2 separate regions of the Homo sapiens genome follow, and region 2 is linked to region 1. Evidence: promoter capture Hi-C in 16 types of primary human blood cells and fetal thymus (Javierre and others, 2016). All regions are on one chromosome and are shown on one strand. Each heading gives the region's core, a stretch centred on a gene start or on the middle of the fragment in contact. The rest is flanking DNA. Distances are from core to core; before and after follow the strand shown. Region 1 holds the start of WRNIP1 (WRN helicase interacting protein 1). Region 2 overlaps LOC102723944 (a long non-coding RNA gene).

Region 1 (2,950 bases), core at 16-2,515:
TGCCTTACCAATCTGGGGGTGTGTGCCCTTTTCACACCCATCACAGACTCCACCTGTGGACCAGGCACTGCCCCAGCCCAGCCCAAGTCTGCACCCCCTTATCCAGGAGAGGCAGGCGGCTTCTTTCGAGGGCAGCACACCCGGCTCTCCGACCATCAGCTGCATCCACCGCCGAGATAACTACGGAAGCCCAACGGCCAAGGCCGCACTCACCTTGCCGCAGCCCGGCGGCCCCCACAGGATAAGCGAGGGGATTTCGTTGGTCTCCAGGAGCGAGCGCAGCAGGGTATCCTGGCCCACGGCCTTGCTCTGCCCGAAGTAATCCTGCAGCGTGTCAGGACGCATCGTGTCGGCCAGCGGCTTGCCCTGTAGCATCTGTCGGATCTCCTCGGCAGCCAGCGCCCGGGGGTGCGGGCGGCCCCCGCCACTGGCCCCGAAGGCGGTGGCGGCTTCGGCAGCGTCCGCGTCCCAGTGCCCCGGGTCGTCCTCGCCGTCCGCGTCCGCGTCCCCGTCGCCATCGCCGTCGCCCACGGCCTCCTCCTCCTCCTGCGCCTCCGCCTCGTCCCAGCTGCGCGGAGACGCGCTCCCCGCCGCGGCGGCGGCCGCCGGCCTCTTCCCCGACCCCTTCCTCCCGGGGCTGCTGGAGCGGGCCACCGGGAAGTCGGGGATAAGGCGGGCGCCGCTGGGTGTGGGCGGCGCGTCGTAGCTCTCGCGGCTCTCGGTCTCGCCGCCGTCGTCGCCCTCCTCACCCTCGCCCTCGCTGCTCTCGGCTGCCGTCGGGGTGGCTGGCTGCTTCAGCGCCGAGCTCTCCGACAGCCGCCGCCTCTTGGCGCCGGGCGGCGAGGGCCCCTTGGCCCGCTCCCCGGCGCGGTGCGACCCGGCCGCGGGCTCCGCGTGCCCCGCCGGGTGGAGCAGCAGACAGCGGTCCAGGTGCGAGTTGATGTGCGCGGCGGGCATCATCTGCTGGCACACGGGGCACTGCACCTGGTGCAGCTGCGAAAGGAAGGGGTCGTCTTCCGGCCCGCTCACCTCCATGGCGGCCGCCGCCCTCCCCGGCGCCCGGCGCGGCCGCAGCAACCCGTGCGCACGCGGAGGCCTTCGATGCCCTCCGCTAGGCCCCGCGCCGCGAGACCCTCGCTCGGGGAACCAGCAGGACGCTCGCGGGCCGGAGGAGGGCGCCGCTCATGCCTCACGTCCGCAGCTCCCGCGTCCGCCCGCCCTCGGCCGGCCGCTGGCAGCGCCTCACGCGGCGTGTCGGGAAGTGTAGTTCGTGGCCGTTTGCCCCGGCGGCGGAGGCGCCTCGCGCGGCATGTAAGTAAGTGTAGTCCGTGGCCGTTTGCCCCAATCACCGCCGAGAATACCTCGCGCGGCACTTCGGGAAGTGTAGTCCGCGGCCATTCGCCCCAGCTGCCGTGCGTCCATTTCCGACTCTGAGAACAGCCTTTGCGGGGGCGGGGGAGGGGCGGGGGGGGGGGTTGCGAGGCGAGCGTGGTGCGCGTGCGCGAGGTTGCGCGGTGGCGGACGCAGCCCTCCGCCCAGGCCTGCGAGTCGCGCGAGGGCAGGGAGGAGCCACGGACTGCGCGAGGTTGTTGGAGCGGCGAGCGCCGCTTTCCCGGCCTTCCGTGCTGGGCTGTTGAATGGGCCTGTGGGGACAAGCAGGAGGCGGCCGCAGCGGGTCGTTTGTAACGAAAGGGAAATGGGGGAAAAAACCCAAAAGCCTCCAATAGAAAACCAGTGTTCTATTGGACGTGAACAGCAGAAAAAATACAAACAAGTACGCGAGTGAAAGAAATGCTCACCTCAGTAGTGGTCAGGGAAATGAAAATAAAGCGTCCCTCGCCCCCTTTTAGATGTGTTGGCGTTTAAGTCAAGGGCGGTTCACCTACAGCGCGCTTCGAGCCAAGAGATGCTTCTCGCGGGCCGCTGTGTAATAGTGGCAAATCGGAAACACCAGCCTTCTGTCTCCTTAGCAACCAAATGATGGGAGGCGCCCGTGTGCAATTACGTCCTAGACGGATAGAAATGGAAAGAATATCAGATTAAAACAAGTGTGGTAGTCTGCATCTTTGAATGAATTACCATGTTATTTTTTGCTTTTGTCTAAGTCTCCCGTTTTAAAACATGTATCTCAAAACAGGCATTTTTGGTAACTAGAAGAGGTAAATGAATTGAGGGAGAATGAAGACTTTTCCGAAATTTGGCCAAAACTTGAATTTTTATTTCATCTGGGCAAGAGCACATTGAGGGTCTCACTCGTTCTGTCGCCCAGGCTGGAGTGCAGGGCCGCGACCAGAGCTCACAGCCTTGAACTCCTGGGCGCCCGGGACCCTTCCGCCTTAGCCTTTGGAGTCGTCCTGGGGTTACAGGCTGAGCCACCACGCCTGGCTGGCTGGTTAAGAGTTGTTTCTAACTAAAAAAGTTAGGCTCAAAAATAAGATTAATAGAAACGCTAGAGAAACAAGTTAAACTTTAATCATCATGTAACGTGAAACTACCAAAAGAGGATCGTGAGCTTTCATTATTTTTTTGAGACGCAGTTTCACTCTTGTCCAGGCTGGAGTGCAATGGCGCAATCTCAGCTCACGGCAACCTCCGCCTCCCGGGTTCCAGTGATTCTGCTGTCTCAGCCTCTCGAGTAGCTGGAATTACGGGCGTCCGCCACCACACCCAGGTAATTTTTTTGGATTTTTAGTACAGACGGGGTTTCTTCCTCGAACTCCCGACCTCAGGTGATCCGCCCACCTCGGTCTCCCAAAGTGCTGGGATTACAGGCATGAGCCACTGCGCCCGACCGTGAGCTTTTTTTTTTCATTTGTCCCTCAGCAGTGAGAGGTGACAGCATTCTGGCAGCCCTCTCAGTCCTCGCTCGCTCTCAGCGCCTCCTCTGCCTTGGCGTCCACTCCGGCCGTGGTTGCGAAACCCTTCAGCCTGCCGCTGTACTATGGGAGCT
Region 2 (2,789 bases), core at 131-2,630, 1.2 Mb after region 1:
TTTTAGCAAGTTGGCTGGGATCAAAATTTGTACCCTGTAGTCATTAGCTTAGGACTTAGCCAAGAACAAACAATAACAATAATAAACCAAAACCAAAACCAACCAACCAACCAACCAAACAAATAAACCAAAACCCCCCAGAACAACAAGAAACCCACATACCATGTTATTGTATAACACTTGATATCATTAACAGGTCGATTTTCTATAGGTTAAATATTTCAATATAATATTTTTGGATGTAGGGAGTTAATGCCAAGGCTCTTATGGGAAGATACATAAGCAAGCAGAGGCAGGAAAGTTCTAGAAAAAAGGAATAATAGGGGAAGGGGACTATCTGTGCCAGATATTAGTCACATATTAAGCTATAATAATAAACAATGAGTTTCTGATGTGGAGCGAAAGCTCAATGGAACAGTCTATAAAGTTCAAGAACATTCAAATACATATTAGAATTTAGTATACGTGCTAAAAGTATGACAAAAGTGCAAAAAGACTAAAAGAAAATAAATACAGTTCATCCTCGGTATCTGGGGAATTGGGTCCAGGACCCCCACAGATACCAAAATCTTCAGATGTTAAAGTCCCTGATATAAAATGGTATAGTGTGTACATATAACTGTATACTTTAAATCATCTCTGGGTTACTTATGATAGCTAATACAATGTAAATGCTATGTAAATAGTGGTTATACTGTATAGTTTTTTTATTTGTATTTTTTTTATTGCTGCGTTGTTATTTTTAATTGTTTCTTTTCCAAATATTTTCCATCTGTAGTTGGTTGAATCTGCAGATGTGGACCCATAGTGGGATGACTGTATGTAAAAGAAAAAACCTTCCACATGGCGGAAAACAAACAAAACAGCAAAATACCCCAAATACCTGAGTCAAAGGGGAAAGAAATGCTTCAACTTGGACTGCACAGGGTTCTAATGCTCTTGATGTATAGAGTTCTTACAAATTAGTAAGGAAAGAACCCAGTAGAAACATGGGCAAAGAGGGTGAAGTGAGAGTTGAAAGACAAGCAGAATCAATGCCTCTAAAGCCTAGCAAAAGATGCTCAACCTCATAATATAAGAAATACAACTCAGCCAGGCGCGGTGGCTCACACCTGTAATCCCAGCACTTTGGGAGGCCCACGCAGGTGGATCATGAAGTTAGGAGATCGAGACCATCCTGGCTAACACAGTGAAACCCGGTCTGTACTAAAAACACAAAAAAATTAGACAGGTGTGGTGGCATGCACCCGTAGTCCCAGCTACTCGGGAGGGTGAGGCAGGAGAATCGCTTGAACACCAGGGAGGCAGAGGTTGCAGTGAGCGGAGATCGTGCCACTGCACCCCAGCCTGGGTGACAGAGTGAGACTCCATCTCAAAAAAAAGAAAAAAAAAAAAAAGAAATACAACTCAAAACTTCAATGAGATTTTTTTCATTTATCAGATTAACAAAGATTAAACAGGTGATAAAATATCATAGGCATAAGGAGAGACAGTCACATTCACACATGGTCAACTTAAGTGAGAACTGGCATCAATATCTGTGCAGGACAATTGGACAATTCCTACCCATAATAAAAATGCACATGCCCTTTGACCTAGCAATCCCACTTTAGGACTATATCTTGCAGATATAATTTCACAAGAATGTGCAACATTGCTCATAATAGGAGAAGTCTGAGAACAACTTAAATGCCCATCAGTGGGTGGCAGGTTAAACAGATTATGGTAAATCCACATGGGGATACTACACAGCCATGAAAAAGAACAAGACTGTTCTAAATGTACTGATATAGACAGGACTCCAAGACATGGTGCTAAGTGAAAAGATAGTAATATTGTAATAATATTGGTAATAAGTGAAAAGTGAATAATAAGTAATAAGTGATAGTAATAAGTGAAAAGAAAGTAATATTGTGCTATCACATGCAAAAAAATAGAAGCGATGTACATGCCTATACTATATATGCATAAAATTTCTTTAAAAAGCTGTCTGGGGTTTGGTGAACACATAACAGTCTCTAACACAAATTGTATAAAGCTGAAGCAAGGCGCTGGTTACAGATAATGATCTGAATATTTCAAAGGGGGAGTTTTAAAAGAACCGAAACCAGATGAAACTGATTATCTCTCATAATACCCAGATAGAAAGACTGGCCCAGGATCTTCAAGGAAGTTTGTTGCAATCAGGGCCCAGTAATTTCATTATCAGAGTGTCGCTGATTGCTGATCCCAGGAGGCCACCTGGGATGGCGTGATTACCCTGCAGGGGCTGATGAGGTTCCACCAAGAATGCAGCAGGTGCCCAGGCTTCCTGCTCTGGGGACTAATGCTTAATTGGTAGCTGGTTGGTTCAGGAGGTGGCGGGTTGGTTCCCAAGAAGCTGATGTCAAGGGTTTTATTCGTATGGGCTCTGCGTGGGTTCACATGGGCCCTTGGTCACATGGGATTCTGGGCAGGGGAGCTGTTTGGGGTGGATGGTTAGAACAGATCTTGGTGCTGTTACCTTCTCTGTGCCTCGATTTCCATCCCAGCTCTGCAGTCATCCACTTACTCAAGGAGGGTCAGTATTAGGTCTGTCTCCCTGCTCATTCTGCCTGCATGCAGTAAGCCAATCACTGTGACAATGGGCTTTGCAAAGAAGAAAGGGTTGATCCATGAGGCTACGAAGCAAGGAGGCAGGAGAACAGGTCTCAAATCTGCCTCCCCAAAAGTCAGGTTAGAGATATATATGGCATAAGGAAGCAAGGTGATCTGAGGTGTGGGGAAAGGTGACTGAGGGTGAAGAAAAG

What was found. Contacts are between HindIII fragments. The CHiCAGO score rates a contact against its expected background, and 5 or more counts as called.
Region 2: a fragment that was not itself captured here is called in contact with the fragment with the promoter of WRNIP1 in region 1 in 1 of 17 cell types (total CD4 T cells); the score reaches 6.6 in total CD4 T cells.

Annotation. Positions count from the first base shown.
Region 1 is chr6:2,763,708-2,766,657 of GRCh38, reverse strand. WRNIP1 (WRN helicase interacting protein 1) reads right to left here and starts at 1,265. Exons shown (of 7, transcript NM_020135.3): 1 at 214-1,265. The coding sequence starts at 1,035. It also overlaps a transcript of MYLK4 not described here. RefSeq lists silencers at 345-664, 835-1,294, 1,455-1,504, 1,885-1,974 and enhancers at 1,429-1,723, 1,821-2,700. The HindIII fragment of the contact is 13,290 bases long and covers 1-2,950 here.
Region 2 is chr6:1,530,012-1,532,800 of GRCh38, reverse strand. All of the region lies in intron 2 of LOC102723944 (a long non-coding RNA gene), which reads left to right. Among named protein-coding and RNA genes, the nearest start is that of FOXCUT, 74 kb to the left of the region's middle. The HindIII fragment of the contact is 2,893 bases long and covers 1-2,789 here.